Linked DNA regions of Homo sapiens: all the other regions are linked to region 5. Evidence: promoter capture Hi-C in human tissues and cell types (Jung and others, 2019). All regions are on one chromosome and are shown on one strand. The core of a region is centred on a gene start or on the middle of the fragment in contact, and the rest is flanking DNA. Distances in the headings are between cores, read along the strand shown. Region 1 has its middle 28 kb from the start of LINC02252. Region 2 overlaps LOC124903462 (a long non-coding RNA gene). Region 3 has its middle 39 kb from the start of ACTC1. Region 4 has its middle 10 kb from the start of LINC02252. Region 5 holds the start of GJD2 (gap junction protein delta 2). Region 6 overlaps AQR (aquarius intron-binding spliceosomal factor).

What was found. Contacts are between HindIII fragments. The study calls those that stand out against the background at their distance.
Region 1: a contact is called between a fragment that was not itself captured here and the fragment with the promoter of GJD2 in region 5, in 3 of the 25 tissues and cell types used here (aorta, heart left ventricle and mesendoderm cells).
Region 2: a fragment that was not itself captured here is called in contact with the fragment with the promoter of GJD2 in region 5 in 2 of the 25 tissues and cell types used here (IMR-90 fibroblasts and thymus).
Region 3: a fragment that was not itself captured here is called in contact with the fragment with the promoter of GJD2 in region 5 in 2 of the 25 tissues and cell types used here (heart right ventricle and mesendoderm cells).
Region 4: a contact is called between a fragment that was not itself captured here and the fragment with the promoter of GJD2 in region 5, in 3 of the 25 tissues and cell types used here (adrenal gland, dorsolateral prefrontal cortex and mesenchymal stem cells).
Region 6: a fragment that was not itself captured here is called in contact with the fragment with the promoter of GJD2 in region 5 in 2 of the 25 tissues and cell types used here (H1 embryonic stem cells and dorsolateral prefrontal cortex).

What each region holds. Positions count from the first base shown.
Region 1 is chr15:34,681,471-34,685,201 of GRCh38, reverse strand. No RefSeq gene overlaps it. Among named protein-coding and RNA genes, the nearest start is that of LINC02252, 28 kb to the right of the region's middle. RefSeq lists an enhancer at 1,992-3,191. The HindIII fragment of the contact is 5,135 bases long and covers 1-3,731 here.
Region 2 is chr15:34,637,492-34,641,213 of GRCh38, reverse strand. The region is part of intron 1 of LOC124903462 (a long non-coding RNA gene); the gene reads right to left. Among named protein-coding and RNA genes, the nearest start is that of LINC02252, 16 kb to the left of the region's middle. The HindIII fragment of the contact is 4,905 bases long and covers 1-3,722 here.
Region 3 is chr15:34,832,350-34,836,472 of GRCh38, reverse strand. No RefSeq gene overlaps it. Among named protein-coding and RNA genes, the nearest start is that of ACTC1, 39 kb to the right of the region's middle. The HindIII fragment of the contact is 5,149 bases long and covers 1-4,123 here.
Region 4 is chr15:34,663,935-34,667,649 of GRCh38, reverse strand. No RefSeq gene overlaps it. Among named protein-coding and RNA genes, the nearest start is that of LINC02252, 10 kb to the right of the region's middle. The HindIII fragment of the contact is 3,983 bases long and covers 1-3,715 here.
Region 5 is chr15:34,753,643-34,757,311 of GRCh38, reverse strand. GJD2 (gap junction protein delta 2) reads left to right here and starts at 2,314. Exons shown (of 2, transcript NM_020660.3): 1 at 2,314-2,894. The coding sequence starts at 2,824. GJD2-DT (GJD2 divergent transcript) reads right to left here and starts at 2,228. Exons shown (of 3, transcript NR_120329.1): 1 at 2,091-2,228. The HindIII fragment of the contact is 7,022 bases long and covers 348-3,669 here.
Region 6 is chr15:34,859,246-34,863,291 of GRCh38, reverse strand. It overlaps AQR (aquarius intron-binding spliceosomal factor), which reads left to right. Exons shown (of 35, transcript NM_014691.3): 33 at 251-425; 34 at 3,137-3,250. Among named protein-coding and RNA genes, the nearest start is that of ACTC1, 66 kb to the right of the region's middle. The HindIII fragment of the contact is 4,126 bases long and covers 609-4,046 here.

The DNA of each region.
Region 1 (3,731 bases), core at 436-2,935, 71 kb after region 5:
TGACCTCAGGTGATCCACCCACCTTGGCCTCCCAAAGTGCTGGGATTATAAATGTTAGCCACTTGGACTGGCCCCCATATTTTTTCTGCATATGAATTGTTATTCCCTTTTTTCTCAAACCTCACTCATTCTTTATGACCTGAACCAAATCACACTCCTTCCATGAGCCTTCTCTGGTGACTCTGGCCTTGCTGATCAAACTTTCATCTGAAATCCTGTTAAATTCAGAGACTACGTTACTACTCAGTAGAAAAACAGACATGTATAACCTATATTGTATTTGTCTTCGTTTCCTGTGAGTTAGCCTCATCTCCCAAACAGGACTTGAGCTACCCGCAAACTGGTAGGCTATAGCCATTCCTTGATCCCACCAAGTCATGACAATATCTGGAGAAAGGAAAGGGGCCACCTCTTTCTGTGCCTCTTTTCTAGAAATGAGGAAACTTCTTTTGTAACTCCTCCAATGGACTTTACCTCACACCTTATTAGCCAGAATTGAGTTAAATGGCCTTTCTCAAATCATACAAGGGAACTGGAATTACCATGGTGGGCTGCAGAACTGGGGGTTAGGTCATCTTCCAAGTCATCAATGGTGATGATGAAGCAGGTGAGATCTTCAAGCATTAAAAAAAAAAAAAAGGAAGAAGGGGGAACAAAGGTTGTGTAAACAGCCAGTGTTCTGGAAGTTCTTGTGCAGGCTTGTAAGTGCCTGTTGTTAAATTCAGAAATTTTTAATGCTGGTAGATAAACATAGTCATCATCAAAACTTAAATTAGGCTAGGCGCAGTGGCCCACACCTGTAATCCCAGCACTTTGGAAGGCCGAGGTGGACAGATTGCTTGAGCCTAAGGAGTTTGAAACCAGCCTGGGCAATATAGTGAGACTTCATCTCCATGAAAATTTGCAAATTGGCCAAGTATGCGCCACTGCACTCCAGCCAGGGTGACAGAGCTGAGACCCTGTCTCAAAAATACAAAAAAAAAAGAAAATTTAAATTGTATTAAATACTTACAATAAAGTATGCTAAAGATAACACTCAAAAGTCATCACTTTCTAATGATTTTTACACATACTATTATCTATGCTCTTGATGCTATTTATGGTTGTGTATATGTGTTGGAAAATACTATAGAATAGTCAGCTATTGCACATCTCTTCCAACTCTGTGTTCAGTGACATCACATTGGCCTTTTTTTTTTTTTTTTTTTTTTTTGAGATGGAGTCTCGCTCTATTGGAAGGCTGAAGTGCAGTGGTGCGATCTCAGCTCACCGCAACCTTCGCCTCCCAGATTCAAGCAATTCTCCTGTCTACATTGGCCTTTTGAAAAAGTTATAGTGCAAATATTTACACCATGGAAATGGTCAGATAATACAAATCATGGCCTGCTTTATTGTTTTGCTGATTGTCTAGATTTAAGGTATTGATAGAGAAAATGTTACTAATGCAGATTAAAATATGTAAGTATATTGTGCCTGTAGCCATTAAATTGTGAATGGCACAAAAATTATTCTTCCAGTTTTCAAAAGTCATTATCTGAACCAGCAATGGCTCACATTATTGACAAATGAGTGAAGGTTTGACATAAGTCTTCCTTATTTAACTTTCATAGTATTTAATAACATAAATAAAAATATTGACCAACATTCAGATCAGAACCACACTCATTTGTTTACTGCCACAGAATGGTTATGGATACAAGCGTTCAGAAAAAAATCAACAAAAGCATTCTGTAGAGTCAATTGGCTTTATGGAATTTATAATAAAAAGTATTGTACACTTTATTATTCATAAATTATATGTTGCATGTCCTTTGTATCAGTTAAATTCATATCTTATATATAAATGCTAATATATATTAGTATATATACCATATATGGCATATAAAATTATATATACATATATATGTATATATGTGTAATATATACTTTTTTCCCCAGTGAGCCAGGTATTAAACATTTACCAGCACCACACTGAGACTACCAATATATTTACTACATCTTTGTAGTAATTTAAGTTAATTTTGTTTGGATGTCCTTTAGAAAATATAGTGATCTGATTTTAGATTTCCTTAATAAGTTAAAAGGTAGATTCAAAATGGTGTACCAAGTTTATTTATGTGGGGGCAGGGATCTGAATGGACAACTTTGCTTTGGTTTAATTCACTGGAGACTTCGGAAAATCAGTGAGGTTTATTTTACTAAATCATGAGGTTTATTCAAGTCTGTAGCTTGAATCAATTCAAGTTCTTGGTAGTAATAATAAGCTACACTGATAAAGGGATTTACCACAATCACATTGTTTTCTTTGATCACGATGAATCATCCTGGGTATGGCACATCTGAACATGTTGATCCCCGATGAGAGGTGAGTGTTCAATGAGGAATGTGCCCAGTTCTGAGCTCACCCTAAGGGAAATGAGAAATTTCATTCGTAGACTGTTTCTGCTTCCTTTTTGACTCGCTTTCCCCTGGAGAACAAATACACATTCACCTGCTGTTCCATACCTTTATCATCTTACCCAGTGGTAGGAGGAGAGATCAGCTTTTGGCCCCTGGGAATGCATGTTAAAATTTTATTCTCTTCCCCGGCCAGACATGATTTGGGCATGAGCTCTCCTTGGGTAATTGGCCCTCTGGGCTTTATTTTTGAATGATGGTTTCTTTTCTCAGTAAATGTGATACGTGTTGAAATGGGGAATAAAAAGAATAAAATGGGGAATGAAAATCAGTCAGTATGACTTTCTCCATAATCTTATTTCTCTTTATTGCTTATCACAATAATGCTTCTCTTCTAGTTCTCAACATGGTTAAACAAATCTTGACATTTCATCTATGGTTATTTTTATGATAGTTATTGTTATATTGATGATAATTATTAATACAAGGGTAGTAACAGTTATTTATTGATCCTCTGCTATGCATCAAGCACTAGACCAAATACTTATAACTTCTCTAACCCCCAGAACAACTATGCTGATAATCATTTTCTCTTTAAAAAGAAGAAAATTAAAATCCAAAGATATTTAATAACCAAGGTTTTAACCAAAGCCTGTCTGACTCCAAAACTCCCATTTTTTCCACTGTAGTAGGATTTTTCTCTTCCATCAATAACTCATTAGGACTGAATCCTGTTGGAGGAACATGTTGAATGATGAGAAATTGCAAAAGTTGCGTTTGAGTCATATTAGCCAAGAATCCATATTGGGACCTTCTTACTTTAAGCTTGACCCTTTGCTAATGAATTCCTTAATGGCATTGATAATCAATGTGCTTTTGGTGTCCTCACCAAGATCAGGCAGAGCCAGGGCAATAAGTGTTCAGAGAAACTTCATGAAAACCCAGTGACTATCTGAGCACACAAGGACACAGAACCTTCTGTTTCATTGACTGCTGGTATTTGAGGTTCAGAAAGTATGCTGGCTTCAAACTTATAAAATATCCCATAGGTTTTCGTGTGTAGGTGGCATCCTGTAGATATCCAGCAGTACTAGAAATGAAATGTGCCCTATGTGATGTGGATATATGTTGTTTTCCTGGTGGAATCCCAGCCTTAGGGCCAGAAAAGGGGTGCATTCGGTGTAAGACCAACCAGGTAAGGAGCAAGTAGCCCTTCAACAAAACAATCCTTTACTGTTACATAACATCTTTGTTCTAAATCTCTTCATCATGCAGTCAGAAGAAATGAAAAGGACTAACACCTGGGCACAGGACTACTGCAACTCCTGACATAC
Region 2 (3,722 bases), core at 39-2,538, 120 kb after region 5:
AGACCCTGCCTCAAAAAAACAAAAGCAAACCACAAAGGTAGTTTGCATCTGGCAAAATGCAAGGGACTATTGCCTTGTAGATAATAACCTGTTTTGTACCTGCTAAGCAAATTCACTTCAGCATTTCTGATGGACTTACATATTTGACTGCTCTTTGGATTCTCCTTTGAGCCAGCTGTAAAATCTTCATTTCCTCATGAATTAATAAGTAAAATCTTTGACATGTGATCTTTTTATAGGACAACCATGATTTACCTTTTAAGAAAGATCCTTTGACCAATGTATGTAATCTCAGCACTTTGGGAGGCCAAGGCAGGAGGACTGCTTGAGGCCAGGAGTTCAAGACCAGACTGGGCAATGTAGTAAGACCCCATCTCTACAAAAAAATAAAAAATTAGTAGGGCATGTTTGCACATGCTTGTAGTCCTAGTTACTCAGGAGGCTGAGGTAGGAGGATCACTTGAGTCCAGCAGGTTGAGGCTACAGTGAGCTATGTGCTACAATAAGGCCATGTCTATGCAGACATGGTGAAAAGGTAGAAATGAAATTCAAAGTTACTTCAAAATAGTTTATCTTCCCTGGCACAAACTGAAACTTTTATGATGCTGTGGAGAGTATGAATTACTACTAAGTCCAGTTGACTAAAATATCTCGAAAACACAGTACATCTTGACACATTAAATAGAACCTCAAACTGCCTGTATGTTCCAAGACTCACTGAAAGTTTGTCAGTTGTTCTCGTGTTTGTTCTACTTGAGGCAGCCCACTCGCTTTCTTTCCTTTCTTCCTCCCATCCTTTCTTCTGTTCTTATTTCCTTCATTTTTCCTCCCTTCCTTTTTTTCAGTTGGCTTTCTAAGCTACTCTAAATTACCAATATAAATCCAGTGCCTTCTTATTTATTTGCAAAGAGCAAATACCATTCGTGTTATTCAGTGGCCACCTTGTGAAAGCTGACTACTTCTACAATGATTGAATTTCTATCTATAATCATTAAGTGGGGCAACAGAAGTAAAAAGACATAAACGGCATTTAGCATAGTATATTACTTTGAAAAACAGATGAATTTTTTATGTAAAATGCTACTGAAGCACTCACTTAAACACAACCATTCAATTTCCTACCTCGAGCCCAGAAGCTCTCTTTGCTGGCCTAAGATATTTTTCTTTATCTAGCATGCCTGATGTTGCAGGTCTCTTTCTCACTCTTTATTCTGCAAGACATGCTCAGATTCTCTTTCCATTCAATTTATGACATAATTCATTGAATGCTACAGCCTACTTGAGGATTTTTAAAAAATATTTTCTAGCCCTGCAATAGAAATTCATTTTTCCAATAAGAAATGTGGTGATGACCCTGTCAGCTAAGTCTCCTAATTCATCTGTCTGTGTGAAAAAGCTCTTCCCTCCAGGCCCCTTCAGAATTCATATATAAATTGCTCTCTATGTATTAGCATCTGCAGTGAAACTAGCTTTCACACTTTTTAAAAAATAAAAAATATGTATATTTTACAATTCCAGAAGTAGAAGATAATAATCAATTCAAAGTATTATTATCCAATTTTTTTCTGGTTCTCAGGGATCTATCCACAGTTATGAGAGGAAAGAATTTCTAAATGACAGTGTACTAACAAAGCATTAAAAATGAGACACATTATTCTAGACTCGCATTGTACTGTTACCAGTAGCATTTTTCTAATCAATATAATAGTTAATCTTAATTCAGGAATATGTCCCAAGTGTTTAAAATGGAAACTTGAATGTTAGTAAATATTTAAAGGATCTAAACATGTTTTTTTTAAAAAACACAAAAATAGGAACTTATAAGTCATTGTGTGCTAGCATTAGAAATTTTAAAAATTAAGTAAAGTGCCTCCAGTAGCATCTCTGGTGTGGCATAAATAGAAAATGCATTGTAAATATGAAATTATGTGGTCAAATGTGATTAACTTGCAGGGGAGAGGAACAAACAGGGCCAGTTTCCCTTGTAGTCTCATACTTTGTTTGTGTAATCAATTGGCCTGTTTTATCCTGGGAAGGTTTTAAGAAAGGATGTTCTGACTGACTACAAGCTTCATTATATCCTCAAACCCTTAATACAGTTTTCCCAGGATTTATAACCAGAGATGGACATTGACAGCTGCACCTCCCCTAACCTGATTTAGCTAGCCTACTCCATCATCTACATATACTTTCATTAATTCAACTGTTATTGAGTATCTCCTATGTACCAGGCATTGAGCTAGGTGTCAGGTAATACAGATGGTTGCTAAAGGGAAAGATGAATAAATCAAAGTCCCGCATCTCAAAACTTCTAAAATCTAGTAGGAGAGACAAAAATGGGCCGGGCGCGGTGGCTCACGCCTGTAATCCCAGCACTTTGGGAGGCCGAGGCGGGCGGATCACGAGGTCAGGAGATCGAGACCATCCCGGCTAAAACGGTGAAACCCCGTCTCTACTAAAAATACAAAAAAAAAAAAAAAATTAGCCGGGCGTAGTGGCGGGCGCCTGTAGTCCCAGCTACTTGGGAGGCTGAGGCAGGAGAATGGCGTGAACCCGGGAGGCGGAGCATGCAGTGAGCCGAGATTGCGCCACTGCACTCCAGCCTGGGCGACAGAGCGAGACTCCGTCTCAAAAAAAAAAAAAAAAAAAAAAAAAAAAAAAAAAAAATGTGTAAGTATGGTAATAATAAAAAATATAATATCTCATTGAAACAAGTAGAATTTTTTTTTTTAATGTTGAAGCACTTCAGTAAAGAGTAGCCATTAAGCTGGACCCTGTCAGTTAAATACAACTTTCACAGGCAGGGATGGGGGAAAGGAAATCTAATTCAATCAAATAGTTTGAATTATTACAAAAAGGAATGTACATGTAAATCTTAGGAATCGTGACTAATTCATCATTGCTAGTGCATAAGGAAAAAAGAATCTAGAAGAGTAATTATAAAAAGCAAGTTCCAGACCATGATAGAGGCGTTCATTGCCATGATGTCTTAACAGCATTGTCATGGAATTGTGTATGAGCTTTGTATTAGTAAATTCTGAGACTTTCCTGATGATACTGAATGATACAATTTGGAAAAAAAAATTATTATCACCCTTCTTCTGATGACTTATAATTCATATTAATTGAAATAATTATGTCTTCACACATTTCTGAAACTCTTATTTCAGCCCCAGGCCAACACAGTAGGATAATGGGTATGCAAGGGTTAAAAAACAGAAAAACTGGGTTGTCCTCCCAAAGCATTGCAGGATGAAGGATTATTTGAACCGGCTTATTTTCTCTATAGTCAGGAAACTCTAAACAATTTGCTTGATAATACATTTTTTAATATTACATGTAAAATATTACATTTTAAAAAAATACAACATTAATCATCTGTTAATTACATGTGATTTTCGATGTTATGTACATAAAAAGAAAGTACTAGCCCTATGCTTCTACCCCCTACTCCAAAGCAGCTGGAAAGTAATATTGTTCAGTGCTGATATGGATGCAGAGAAATGGGTTTTCGTGGATTGCCAGTGAGGGTGTAAATTACTAGAGCCCTTTGGAAAAATGTCTATTATCATATTGAAATGCCAAGAAATATGAATATAAACTTAAAAATTTGAGCAATCCTTATATGAAATCCCAATATGTTTACAAAGGTAGATGCTGCTAGTTATTACTCATTGTAATGTGGGACTAAATAAATAAATGTTCCTTAAGATGGAAAGGAC
Region 3 (4,123 bases), core at 705-3,204, 80 kb before region 5:
GGACTACAGGCACATGCCACCATGCCAAACTAATTTTTGTACTTTTAGTAGAGACGGGGTTTCGCCATGTTAGCCAGGCTGGTCTCAAACTCCTGACTTCAGGTAATCCGCCCACCTCGGCCTCCCACAGTGCTGGGATTACAGGCGTGAGCCACTATGCCTGGCCCAAAATCTTAAAGATAGGAAATTTATGCTAGGGTATCTTTGCTTTTCCCAGGCATTTAAAATTATTTATTTATTCATTCATTCATTACCATATCTGGAGAGCCAGAGAAATGCAAAAACATTGGTAGACTGCTGTCATCACCATCATCTCTAGAAAAGGTAAGAGGAAACCAATTTAGGGGTTGCCTGTGCTTGGGGGGTATTACTCAAGATATTTTTGCCCAGACTAATGTCTTGGAGAGTTTCCCCAGTGTTTTCTTGTAGTAGTTTCATAGTTTGAGGTCTTAGATTTAAGTCTTTAATCCAAATTTATTTGATTTTTATATAAGGTGAGAGATAGGGATCCAGCTTCATTCTTCTGAATATCGATATCCAGTTTTCCCAGCATCAATTATTAAAGAGACTGTCTTTTCCCCAATGTACATTCTTGGCAACTTTGTCAAAAATGAGTTCACTGTAGGTATGTGGATTTGTTTCTGGGTTTTCTATTCTGTTCTATTGGTCTATGTGTCTGTTTTTATGTCAGTACCATGCTGTTTTGGTTACCATAGTCTGCAGTATACTTTGAAGTCAGGTAACATGATTCCTCCAGTTTTCTTCCTTTTACTCAGGATAGCTTTGGCTATTCTAGTTGCTTTTTTTTTTTTATTCCATATATGTTTTAGGACATTTTTTCTATTTCTATGCAGAATCTCATTGGTATTTTGATAGAGATTACATTGAGACTGTATATTGCTTTAGGTAGTATGGATATCTAAACAATAGTGATTCTTCCTATCCATGAACATGGAATATCTTTCCATTTCTTTGTGCCCTCTTCAATTTCTTTCATCAGTGTTTTATAGTTTTAATTGTAGAGATCTTTCACTTCTTTGGTTAATTCCTAGGTATTTAATTTTGTTTGTAGCAATTGTAAATGGGATAGCTTTTTAAATTTCTTTTTCAGATTGTTCTCTGTTGGCATATAGAAATGCTACTGATTTTTGTATGTTGATTGTTAGGTTTTTCCAAATGTAAGATCATGTCATCTGCAAAAAAGGATAATTTGAGTTCTTTCTAATTTGGATGCCCTTTATCTCTTCTCTTGTCTGATTGCTCTAGCTAAGACTTCCAGTAGTATGTTGAATAACAACGGTGAAAGAGGGCTTCCTTATCATGTTGCAGATCTAAGAGGCTTTCCATTTTTCCCTATTCAGTATGATACTAACTGTGAGTCTGTCATATATGGCCTTAATTATGTTGAGGTATGCTCCTTCTATACCTTTTTTGAGGGTTTTTATCATGAAGGGATGTTGAACTTTATCAAATGCTTTTTCAGCATCAATTGAAATTATCATCTGGTTTTTGCCCTCCATTCTGTTGATAATGATGTATCACATTGATTGATTTGCATTTGTTGAACTATTCTTGCATCCCTGGGATAAATCTCACTTGGTCATGATGAATTATCTTTTTAATGTATTGTTGAATTTGGTTTGCTAGTATTTTGTTGAGAATTTTTGCATTACTATTCACTGGGGAGACCGGTCTGTAGTTTTCTTTTTTGATCTCTGTCTGGTTGTGGCATCAGGATAATACTAGCCTCTGAGAATGAGTTTGGAAGTATCCCCTCTTCCTCCATTTTTTGGGAAAATTTGAGTATTGGTATTAGTTCTTTAAATGTTTGATAGGATTTAGCGGTAAAGTCATTGGGTCCCAGGCTTTTCTTTACTGGGAGACTTTTTGTTACAGCTTCAATCTCATTGCTTTTTATTGGTCTGTTCAGGTTTTGGATTTTTTCGTGGTTCAATCTTGGTAGGTTGTGCATGTCTAGAAACTTACCCATTTTTTCTAGATTTTCCAGTTTATTGGCATATAATTGCTCATAGTAGCCACTAATCATCCTTTGAGTTTCTGTGGTAGCCGTTGTGATGTCTCATTTTCCATCTCTGATTTTATTTATTTGGGTCTTCTATCTGTTCTTCTTGGTTAGTCTAGCTAAAGTTTTGTCGATTTTGTTTATATTTTTCAAAAAAACAGCTTTTTTTATTGATCTTTTGTATTATTTTCTGTTTCAAATTCATTCAGTTCTGCTCTGATCTTTATTTCTTTTCTTCTACTAATTTTGGGTTTGGCTTGCTCTTGCTTTTCTAATTTAATTTGTTTATTTGAAGTTTTTCTTCTTTTTGATGTAGGTTGTTATAGCTATAAATTTCTCTCTTAGCACTGCTGTTGCTGTATCCCATAGGTTTTGTATGTAGTGTTTACATTATCCTTTGTTTCAAGAAATATTTCAATTTTCTTCTTAATTTCTTCATTGACCCACTGGTCATTCAGGAGCATATCATTTCATTTCCATGTGTTTGTGTAGTTTCCAAAAGTTCCTTTTGTTACTAATTTGTAGTTTTATTCCATTGTGGTCAGATAAGATGATATTTTTTAATTTTTTGAATGTTTTAAGTCTTGCTTTGTGACCTAACATATGGCCTATTCTTGAGAATAGTCCATATACTGAGGAGAAAAGTATGTACTCTGCAGCCATTAGATAAAATGTTCTGTAAATATCTATTAGGTTCATTTGTTCTATAGTGAAGATTAAGTCCAATGTTTCTTTGTTGATTTTCTGTCTGGGACATCTGTCCAATGCTGAGAAGTGGGGTGCTGAAATCTCCAACTCTTATTGTATTTGGATCTATCTCTCTCTTTAGCTCTAATAATATTTGCTTTTTATATCTGGGTGCTCCAGTGTTGAGTGCATACCAATAGCTTTTTAAAGAGGCAGAAGATGGGACTAATATCAGAAACCTCTCTATTCCCTTTAAAGTACAGTATAATGGGAGTTGCCATGCGCAGAAAAATCTTTTTCTCATTATCTTTAAATTTTATCAGAATTGAACAACCATTTCAGGCTTATTTATATATAGATATCTAAATCTTTCCACCCCACTATGGTCAGAATATTGGTGTTCCCGCCACCAAATTCATATATTGAAACTTAATCCTCAATGCAGTAATATTAAGACATGGGGCCTTAGATAGGTGATTAGGTCATGAGGGCTCTGCTGTCATGAATGGGACTAGTGCCCTTATAAATTAGGTTGAAGAGAGCACCCTAGCCCCTTCAGCCAAGAATGCAGCAAGGGGCACCATCTATGAATCTATGAGTGAGTCTTCTATAGACACTGAATCAGCTGGTGTCTTCATCTTGGACTTCCCAACCTCCAGAATTGTGAGAAATATATTTCTATCATTTATAAATTATTCAGTGTACAGCACTTTGTTATAGCAGCCCGAATGGGCTGAAACATACCCTATTGTTGTAAAATCTGCTGCCCAGAGTCAACAAAACACAGAAAACAGCCATCCCCTTCTCCTCCCTTATCCTCTTACAGAATTCTGCCTTAACAAGACCCACTTTTATCAGTATCTGTTGTTCCCATATAATTTTCCTGCACAGCAATGTTCTCCACTCCGTAATAGGTGAAGCTTTTTTTTTTTTTTTTTTTTTTGAGACAGAGTCTTGCTCTGTTGCCCAGGCTGGAGTGCAGTGGCACAATCTCGGCTCACTGCAAGCTCTGCCTCCCAGGTTCACGCCATTCTCCTGCCTCAGCCTCCTGAGTAGCTGGGACTACAGGCGCCCGCCACCACAGCCAGCTAATTTTTTGTATTTTTTAGTAGAGATGGGGTTTCACCATGTTAGCCTGGATGGTCTCCATCTCCTGACCTCGTGATCCTCCTGCCTCGGCCTCCCAAAGTGCTGGGATTACAGGCATGAGCCACCGCGCCTGGCCTTCGGTGAATCTTTTTTTAAGGACACAAAAATTCTCTTGTGCCCTGTGATATTAGTGAACTGGATTTTTTAAGCCCATTGATAGTGTTTCCCATACTGAAACTCTAGGTTAGGCCATTACTAAATGGGGTTTAAACCAATTCAAGTTGGTTTAACATTCAAAAATGAAACAATTATCATCAACATAGT
Region 4 (3,715 bases), core at 664-3,163, 89 kb after region 5:
AGTCATCATGCTAACTAGGTATAAAATATATTTCTTTCACCCTTAAATCATCCTGTTTTGTGTTTGATTAAAACTGAGTGGAATATAGTAATACAGGAAAATATGTATATGATTTATGAAGAAAACATAAGAATACTCTGAGAGCAGGCACTCACAATTTTTATTGACAGGGTTCATGATCAAAATTGTTTAAAGAGTACTCATTTGTGTCATACTACTTTTTATAGCTCCAGTCTCAAACATGTGTCCAGGACTTCCTAGGTCCTTTGCACTCTGAAAAAGAAATGGAATGAGGAGATAAGACAATTAAGAGGCAAACAAACCCTAAGCAAAGCTTCCCTGATTCTCCTGTTTAAAATAGTAGCCCTTTGGTGGCTCATGCCCATAATCCCAGCACTTTGGGACGCCGAGGTGGGTGGATCGCTCGAGCCCAGGAGTTAGAGAGCAGCCTGGGCAACATAGCGAAACCTCATCTCACAAAAAATACAAAAATTTAGCCAGGTGTGGTGGCATGCTCCTGCAGTCTCAGCTGAGATGGAGGATTGCTTGAGCCCAGGAGGTTGAGGCTGCAGTGAGCCATGATCACACCACTGCAATCTAGCCTGGGCATGGGACTGAGACCCTGTCTCAAAAAAAAAAGTAGCCCATGACTTTCTCTATGCCGGTCCTAACTTAATTTATCTCCCCAGCACTTATTACGTTTTCATATCCTGTTACATTTCTTTATTCATTCCGCTTATTATCTGTCTCTCTCCCACTAGTCTGTATGCTCCACAAAGATGAATAAATCTTGGTTAAATGAATGAATAAAATATCCATTCCTCTCTGAGAAGCAATTCCAAGAACACCTATGCTTGTAGATTTGGTAGCAATTCTAAGTCCCTGAGTCTTCAGCAAGGTTGGCCTTAGGTAAAGTGGTGAAGGTGGGAATTCTTCAGCATCTTTCCAGCTCTGTTGCTCATGTTCTCATACTGCTTTGTGGCTGCTCAGAGGAGATATAACTCTTCCCTCCCCTGTCAGTTGAGTGCTCAGTATACTATACTTCTCCTTCTCTTTGTCCCCTGATTCATGCTCTAGGGTTTTGTTTTGGATATCGTTTCCCAATGCATTGATGTGCTGCACTGGGCCATAGACTGCTGTGACCAGGTACACACTTGCTTTATAACTGATGGAGCAACTCCTCAGCAGGAGAGTTGCCAGTCTTGTGCAGGAACATATCCAGCTCCATGGCAGGTGGGTATGGAATCCAGAGCAGAGAGATCTTTGGGTGGGAGAGTTTGGGGCATCCTCAAACCACCCTATTGCAGGGCAGCTGCCTTGGCACCAGCCTTGATCATCAGATCTATGAAAACCACACCCTTCTGACTGCTCCTGAGTTTCTAGAAATTGCTAAGTTGAGAAATGGGCTGATGTTAATAATCAATAGGCATTGGATGGGCGTTGCTTCCCGTCCGTAAGTCTTTGGATAAAGGGCCTGAATCTGAGATGCAGACTTTTCAGGCTCTGGGTAGTTGTCAACAGAGGCAAAGGAAGCTCTTCTGTGTTTCTTTCTGCTCTAGTTGGTACTGAGTGTTGCAGCCACTAACCAGGACTGAACATGGTATTCCCTAACTCGAATCTTACAGGAAAAGGCGTTTGAAATCTCTGTGTGCCTGAAAACCGGTGACTTGTTTTTCTGTCATGAGCTTGGTTTCTAAATAAAGCAACAGATGTTTTGCTTTTGCCTCTTTCCTTTCTGTCCATGGCTCCTAACGTGGGTGATATTAACCAAGTGTGACAGGTTTCAGGTTTTTATTTATAGCAGTGGAGAACTGTTTTCATCTATCTGCAGAGTTCTGGGCTTCTGAAGCTGAGTCTTTCTTCAGCTTCAACTTAAAATCCTGAAGGGTAGAAGTTAAGAAGCTTGAAGGTTCTGAAGATAGGAGCCGTGTTCAGAGGGGAAAAGAGAACATGAGGAATCTGATGAAACTTCCTCATCTCTTTCACTGAGGCAAGATATCTAATGGCTTAGCTGGAAATGTGAGGCTTGTATCTATAAAAATCTTTACACCCTTATAGTAGAAGGCCTCCTATTTGAAACCATCAAAATTCCTAATAAGATTGAAAAACTTTATTAAATTGAGGAATCAAAACAATGCCTACCTTAAGCATTTATTTTAGCATATATATATGTATATATATATATTCATTTGCCAATCATTTGATAGAGAGCCACAGCCTTTTACTTTGAGATGAGTCTTCCGCTTATAGTTCTATATTACCTTTTTAAAATAAACTACATCCATAATGCATTTTCTTTAATTTGTAGTCATCATTTCTCAAGTGGAAAAATAACACTTGCAAGCCAGGTGCGGTGGCTCATGCCTGTAATTCCAGCACTTTGGAAGGCTGAGGATCGCTTGAGCTGAGGAGTTCAAGACCAGCCTGGGCAATATAGGGAGACCCCATCTCTACAAAAACTAAAAAAAATTAGGCAGGTGGCATACATCTGTGTTCCCAGCTACGCAGGAGGCTGAGGTGGGAGGATCACTTGAGCCCAGGAGGTCGAGGCTGCAGTGATCCATAGTCATGCCACTGCACTCCAGCCTGAGTGACAGAGTGAGACTCTTGTCTCAAAAATTCCAAACCAAACCAAACAAAAAACACTTGCAAAGCACTTTAAGTACATCTTCCTTCTGGATTTTTGCAAATTCCACCCACCTCCCACCATTACCACATACATACTGCCCAGTCTTTGATGTTGGTTTCTCCTACATCTAAATTGATAACAATTTTAAAAATTCAGATATATTTTTGTTGGGTTATTCCAAAGCATTTCAACTATATTTTTATAGAACAATCCCCTTTCTGTTAAAATTCCTTTTTAAAACATTGAAACATAACTTAAACTGCATGTATTTAACTTGTACAATTTATTAATTTTGATATATGTATATATCTGTGAAACCATCACCATAATCAGGATAATGAACCTATGCATCATCCTAGAAGTTTCCTCGTGTCTCTTTGTAATTTGTCTGTCCTGTTTCTCCCAGACCATGACTCCCTTCCCTTCCCAGGAAACCACTAATATGTTTTCTGTCACTATAGATTAGTTTGCATTTCCTAGAGTTTTATATAAATCAAATCATACAGTATGTACTTTTTTTGGACTGGCTTCTTCTACTTGGCATAATTATTTTGAGATTTACAATATGTCAATATTCCTTCTCTTTTTATTACTAAGTAGCCTCCCATTGTGTTTGTATAGAGCAAGTTGTTTATTTATTCTGATGAACATTTGAGCTGTTTCTCCTTTTTTGGCTATCACAAATAAAGCTGCCATGAACATTCATGTTCAAGTATTTGTAAAAGGTCTGCTTTCATTTCTCTTGGGTGTAAATACCTAGAATGAAATGGCTGGATCCTATGGTAAAAGTATACTTAACTTTCAAAAAATTTGCCAAACTATTTTCCAAAGCGCATTACCATTTTGTACTTCCAACAACAGTGAATGAGAGTTCTAGTTCATCCACTTCCTTGTTAACCACTGGTACAGTTAGTCTTTTTTAATTTGGGTCATTCTAATATGTGTGTAGTATCTCACTGGGTTTTAATTTGCATTTCCCTAATGACTAACGACATTGAGCTGGTATTTCATGCTGGTATTTGCCATCTGTATATGTTTTTGGAAAAGTGTCTGTTAAAAATCTTTTGCCCGTTTTGGTCGGGTTGT
Region 5 (3,669 bases), core at 1,065-3,564:
TTTTAATAAACAGAATGGCTTTTAAATAAGATGTAATGGAAAGAACTTCCCAGCTGCCTTAAACGGGGGTTTTCAATCAGAGGAGAGTTGAGATAATCAGAATCTATCAAGAAGATACAATGCCCTGAGGAAACTGAGAGATGCCCGGATCCACAGAGAACCATTTCACATTTAATGCACATTTGTTTATCGGAACAAATTATTAATTGAAAATGGAGTTGACTGGACTTGAAGGAGGAAGTACAATGTAGTAAGTGTGAAATTTATGAGTGGTTATTAAAAATAAAAATGGTTATTTCTGAAGTGTGGTGGTGAGACTAAGATTTTTATTTAAAAGTAGCCTACACAGTCCAACTGATGAGTTTTAAAATATAGGTTCTATATATATGCGTCTTTGTGCACTTATACACCTATGTTGTTTGCACATGTTTATATGTGGAATCTATATGGCATATTAAAGTATATTTCAAAATAATACACAAATGATCAACAATTCAGTCATAGCGTAGTGTCTGATAATTGCATTTCCTGCAGTCTATGTTCTTAGGATCATAATCTTTAACGGTTTGGGAAAGCCAACACATAAAATGACAATTTTGAGTTGTGCAGCCTATTTTGGGACATTTAAAGATGTTAAACAGATTTCCCTTTGGACTTACTCATTCACTTCTTGGCTAAGATCATTTACTATAAGAGAGTCTGCCAGACAAGGAGGGAATACAGGGACCTAGGGCCAAGGGGAGTAGAAGGGAAACCTGGGAAAACACACCAAGTTTGGGTTAGGGGATCACCATTCCATCTGGAAGCTAACTGGATAATAGGGTATCCATTCGTCCTCACCCTTGAACCTCCTCCGTGTTCAGAAGGAAACTAATAAATCACTTTATCCCTCTCTCCATTGTTAGTGGACTCTTTTACTCCTTTGCAGTGAAAGGCTGCTTTCTTGGGGTAAAGATGTCAACCCTAGCAGAGGATTTCAGTGATCTTTCTGGCGGCGAAGCTTAGACCGTGTGTTTAAACATCATTTTATGAAGAAGTACACTGTGAGTGGACTGAGGGCCATGCCCTGCACCTTTCTTCCCAGTCCCTGGGCCACCAACTACCCAACCACCTCGGTTGTTCCAGAAGTGAAGGCTCACCATGGTGTGGCTTATGTAATATACATATGTGCTATGATCCCTGTGGATAATTAAGGCTAGGTCCCTTTATATGCCTAGGACAAGTTAGCAACCCTTTCAAGGTCGTGTTTTCGAAAGGATGACAATTACTTTCCCATTGGACTTTTGGTACATTTACATCAAACACTGCCAGCTACAGTGTCTCCTAATACTGACCCCTGGGCTAATTAGCAGCTTAGTGAGGTTGTTTCAATTTTTCAGCAACCAATTAAGTAGTTGCTCTAGACAGAACTGACAACACAATGTGAATTTTAAAAACCGGGATCTGCTGGTTGAGGGGAGAAAGCCAAACCCAGTAAGGCAAGTGGGGGCAGGGCGAGGCTGTGAGTGGCTCTGTTTCTGCTAGCAGAATACTGGGTCTTAAATTCAGATTAAATCACAGTTTACCTGACGAGTACCCCGCCCCCCCTTCCCATTAGTAAAATAATAGCAATAATTTAAAAAGAGCCGAGCATCTGGGTTAGTGCAAGGGGAAGCGAGACCTTTAACCATGGCCACCCCACTTGCTCTTTGCGAGGCACCTGTTAGATGCGCTCGTGTGCCCTGACCCCTATACCGAGAGACAGCTCCACACCTGCATTTACCCTTCAGCCTAAATGGATTCCCATCAAGCCTTTCTCACTTCACTGTCGGATCCACAGAGGCACCGAACCGCAGCCACTCTGCAGAAGCACTCTCAGCCACTCTGTCCCCTAAGGGAGATTTAAAAGTGGTCGCCCCCACTCGCCCTCCCTCAGCCAGCATCTCCATCTAGGGAAGGAATTTCAGTTGTCTCCAGGAGGCAAAAAGCGAAAAGGTGAGGGATGCACCGAGAGAAGAGAAGATACCTACTCACTCCCCTCCCCACTCACCCACGCGTCCGCTCCCGGCTCCCCCTCCGCCTGCTTGGGTCTGGCGGTCAGGTGAGGTTACCTGGGCTCCCCGAGAAGCCCCGAGGGGCGCTGCAGTCCTTCCTTTCGAAATCGCCCCGCTCCCCGCCGGGCCTCCAGGACTCTTGCCCCTCTCCCCCCGCGCGCGTCCCCGGCCCCTCGGGCTCCGACGCGCAGCGACAGCCGCACGGCGCGCTCTGCTCCCCTCCGCCGACCTGGCGTGACGCAGGCGGAGACTACTTAAGGGCGGATTAGAGGCGGCGGCCGCGGATCCCCGAGCCCAGCATTCGGCTCCGCGCGCTCGGCCCTGGCCTCGCAGGCTGCCGCGCCGGAGCGCCAGGTGCCCGCTGAAGTAGCAGGAACAGAGCCGGTGTTCGGACCCTCCCCTGGCCCCCAACCTGCGGCGGAGAGCGGCGCTGAGACTTCTCCTGGGCGGGCGAGCGCTGGAGGACCTGCAGGCTGCCACCCCGCCCCGCCCCTCGTCCCGGCGTCCGCGGGATCCAGACCCGAACCCCGGACGGCGCCCGAGGTTCGTGCCCTCTCTCTAGACCGCGCCAACTGCCCCATCGGTCGGGACGCGCTTGGATTTCTTTCCCCATTTCTTCTCTTTTAAGTACAATAAAAGGAAAGGGGGATTCGAGGATTTTTTAAAAAATTGCTTCTTTAATTGGGAGGCAATTCACTCCCATTCTGGAAGTGCGGCCCGGGGAGGGGCCAGGAGCGGGAACGTGCCCGGTGCTGCCCAGTCTTTGTCTGCTGCCTCCGGATGCACAGCGATGGGGGAATGGACCATCTTGGAGAGGCTGCTAGAAGCCGCGGTGCAGCAGCACTCCACTATGATCGGGAGGTAAGGGCGCCAAGCCGGCGGTCAGGGGGCCCCGTCGGGCGGCCCCCGGGAGTCCCTTCTCACACCTGGACTGAGTCTCCCGCTCCAATCCCCAGTCCGTCCTCTGCCTCCTCCCCATCGTCCTAGGTCAAGGCTCCGGTGTTCCCGGCGATGAGGGATTACCCGACGCCCCGCGATGCCCCCCTCCTCTAGCTACTCCTAACCAGCTGCCCATCCCTTCCCCATCAAGCACCACTGGGGCTTCACTCTTCCCACATCAGAAAAGGAGCCGCTGGCTCAGTCTTGGTCCCTCCACTCTCCAGAGTCAGAGCCAATCTCCATTTGGTTCCCTAAATAGAATCTACAAAGAAGGCAGGATTGCATTTGGACAGAAAAGGGCAAATGGGGAGATGGATTTGCTCTTCAGAGCAGATGCCTCTTTTCTCAACAAATAATTACTAAACCAAACTTATTTGGCGGTGTAAACTTACCGAGCCTACACACCCAATTGCCATTTTTGGGTCTGTATCTATATCTATGTCTCTATCTACCTAGCTTTATATATATATGAGTTCAATATATATGAATATATATTCATAGCCATCTGCTTATATAAAGCATTAAATTTAATATTCATGTTGAGAATAAACTAAATATACACATGGAGTAGTTATTTACACACCCTGTGTGTAGACCTCGAAGCATGCACCATCTGTAAAGGTATTCTGTGTGCATTTGCCATATCCAGAGTGAAGGTGTGTTTTGTGTTTCTATACATTCTATATAGAGAGATGAA
Region 6 (4,046 bases), core at 1,422-3,921, 110 kb before region 5:
TAATAAGTGCATTGGTTATTTTGTGATCCTCCCCTTCAAAAAACCAACAAGAGGTTAGTAATAAAGCCTTAACTTTTACTTGGTTTATTAGTCACGTAACATTGATTAACTTCTATTAAGTTTTTAAGAAGCTTAACTTTTTATTGCCAGGGCTTAACAGGACTATCTAATGAAATCTGTGAAAAAAAAAAAAGCTGCTTAAATGTTAATAATCTTGAAGTGTGCTAATTATTTTGTTTATTTCCCAAAGGGATGTCCGTCGCTTGGTAGTGGCCATGTCTAGAGCCAGACTTGGACTTTATATCTTCGCCAGAGTATCCCTCTTCCAAAACTGTTTTGAACTGACTCCAGCTTTCAGTCAGCTCACAGCTCGCCCCCTTCATTTGCATATAATTCCAACAGAACCTTTCCCAACTACTAGAAAGGTAGGACTTCTTTCTTCATTTTATAAAACAGCATTCCTCAGAGTGGAAATTGGGATTTTCTTATAGGTGACCACATTAGCTTGGAACATTATTATAGATAATTTAGTCCCTGTTTTAGAGTGTGCTGCACTGAGGAACTGAGGTAGATTTTCTATATAAAAATGATATCGGTAGGGCGCAGTGGCTTATGCCTGTAATCCCAGCACTTTGGGAGGCTGAGGTAGGAGGATTGCTTGAGCCCAGGAGTTTGAGACCAGCCTGGGCAACATAGTGAGACCTTGTCTCTATAAAAAATAAATAAATAAAAATTAAAAATAATAATGTCAGCCAACATTTAGTGGCTACCATGTATTAGGCAGGCAGTTCTTTACATACATTATCTCATTTTCATCTCAGTAAAAACAGCCTATTAGGTTATTAGATTATTTTATTAACCCCGTTTTACAAATGGAGAAACTTAGGGTCAGAGAAGCTAAGTAGTTTGGCCATGCATCTAGCAGATAGAGGATCCAAGATCTGAAAAGCCAGGAGGTCTTTTCGAATAACATCCCAGAGTTCATGTTATTTATCATTATACTGTACTGTTTGTCTTCAGCTTTGTAAGGAGAACTTAACTACTTACTTGGAAATAGAGCAATAAATAGTTGAGTTCTTAAGAAGCTTACATTCTGGGGAAATGAGGGAGGAGAGAGCACATATATTTAAAGAAAAGATAGAGAAATACTACTCCCTCTTATCTCCCCTTCTTTCTCCCCTTTTCCTAGCACCTTCCCTCCATAGGTAACCAGTTTCTTTAGTTTCACGTTTATCCTTATATTCCTTTTGTATAAAGGAGAAGAGATATGTTACTTTTATATTATTTTCCTTCAGGTTATTATACTATAGACTTTTGGGCTTTGCTTTTTCATTTAATGAATTGTCCTAGGGGGGTCCATTGGATTTTAAATAACATTATTTTAGATGTTCACAGTATACGTCTTCCCTCCACCCCTACTAAAAAAAAACTTAAATCTTGTGTGTTTAATAATAATAAGTACTTTATAAAAAGTGCCTTTTTATTTACTTATTTTTGAAGAAATGCTGCTGTGGAGAAATAGGAAAATGGTGGAGAGAGATCATGGGGTGGTAGGGTCACATAAAGCCTCAAGTGTCAGGCTCAAGTCTAGACACAATCCTATTATATCCGAGTTTCTTGATCTTTTGTGGGCTAGTAAACAGGCACATTCCTGACAAGAGGTCTGGGACAGAGCCTAGGTGTCATCATGTGTAACAAGCTCCCCACGTGCTTTCTATGTAAGGGCTACATGTCACACCTGAAGAAATCTGGAGTGCAGGTCAGACAATATCACTGAACAGAAGGCTTGGAAACCCATGCTTTAGATAACACTCATGAGTTCAAGGCCCTGGGGAGGTTAGGGCTGAGAACATCTCCCCATCTTCTCCTCAAGAGATAGTGAGGGGCGGAGAGTGCTGTGTCTCAAGGAAAGGCAGCTCTTGGCAAGACTCCAGAAAATAAGCTAACAAGCAAAAACTCTTCCATGTTCCTAGTCATAATAGCATGGCCGTATTTGTACATACGAGTTCTGACCATTGCAGAAAATGACCATTAATCAAAAGAATACCTGCTTAGATGGAATGCTGCCATCCTGCTTACTTCTGAGAAATGTTGTTTAATTTACTAAATTATTTCTAACTTCATGCTCTTTAAATAACTTTTCACTTTGAGATTGAATCCTCCTTTTTTGGGGTATGTTTTTTACCTTAATGATTTTCTAAATTGTTCCTATCATAAGAAAGGATAAGACTTTATAAGCATTTTATTAATAACTATAAATAGGAAAGTTGTTAATCTCTATTTTAGGGTGGTTTAAAAAGAAGTGCAAATTCTGTATTTTCTTGATTTGCTTTACTACCTTACCTACACTTATAGAGCAGTGTTTCTTAGATTGTTGTCAGAAGCTACAGAAGAATCAGCTCATTCCACCCAGACCTTCTGAATCTGAATCTATAGGGCTGGAGCCTAGGTACCTGCAATTTAACAGTCTACCCCAGATGATTCTGATAGACACCAAAATCTTAAAAAGAGCATTTGAATATTCACCCTCTTGACTCATAGTATATGTGTTAAATAAAAGTAAATGTTAGCCTCTTACTTTTTAGAAAAATATAAGTAGGACAAAGAGTGTTAATATTTTCTTTCTGAATTATCTTAAGAACTGTCTTTGGAGCATACACAGTCTTAGAAACTGCTGTTTCAGACTGTGTTGACTTTTCTCTCTAGTCAAATAATTACTTATCTTGTACTAATTCTTTTATATTAGATAGTAAACTAAAACCCATACTTAACTTACCAGCCCAAAATTATATTAAAAGCTGGCAACTCTTAGCTCTTCTAGTCTCTAACCTTTCTAAATTTCAATGGAATCACTATTCTTCATGAAGTCTTTTTTTTTTTTTAATGGGAGTCACGTGGCCAGCAGGCAGAGCGTGCTGACCTGGGCCCCCTTTTTATTAATTCTATTTAAGTCTTTTTTTAACATTCATGAAGTCTTCATTGGACTCTTCACACTTGCATTTTATGTCCTCTTACTGTTAGGTCTTCCAGACCCTAATTGTGCTTATTCATAAGATTAAGAAATGGGTTTATGTTGAAGTGTTACCTTCTAGGGTTGTTTTACTAGATACTTAACGTTCTTTTTTCCTTCTTCTAGAATGGAGAGAGACCATCTCATGAAGTACAAATAATAAAAAATATGCCCCAGATGGCAAACTTTGTATACAACATGTACATGCATTTGATACAGACTACACATCATTATCATCAGGTGAGTTTCTCAAAATCGACTTTTATTTTTCTTGCTGTAGAAATAATTTTCTTTTTTTCAGAATAAATCTTTAAAGTACCTAATTCCTTGTGGGAAATCAGCTAAACTAAAGCAGGCTATTATTATTTATGTAACATTCGTATTTTTAAAACTTCTTTATATAGTTAGAATTCCACATACAATAAAGTCCACAAACTTAAAGTGTAAAATTTTATATGTTCTGGCATAGGTATTTACCTGTGAAGCCATCAGCACAGTCAAGATAAAGAGCATATCCATTATCCCAAGAGTTTTCCCTTGTGCCCATTTGTAATCCCTCCTTGCCCTTCACCAGTCCCCTTTTTACCTTCCCAGGCAGCCAAGGATCTGCTTTCTGTCATGATAGGTTTGCTTCTATTTTCTAGATTTTTATATAAATGGAAGCATACAGTATGTATTCTTATTTTTTCTGGCTACTATTGCTTATACAAGTCTTTGTACTTTATCTTGGGTAGATACCTAAGAGTGGAATGGCTGAATTTATGTTAAGGATGTGTTTAACTTTTTAAGAAGCTACCAACCTGTTTTTCAAAGTGGTTGAACCACTTTACACTCTCAGCAGCAGTGTGAGAGTTCTAGTTGCTACACATCCTCACCCTCACTTGATATGGTACGTCTTTTTAAAATTTTGGCAGTTCTAATAGATATACAGTGGTCTCAGTATGGTTTTGGTTTTCATTTCCCTAAGGACTGATGATGAGCATCTTTTCATGTGGTCATTTGCCATCTGTATATCTTTGGGGATGTGTCTGCTCAG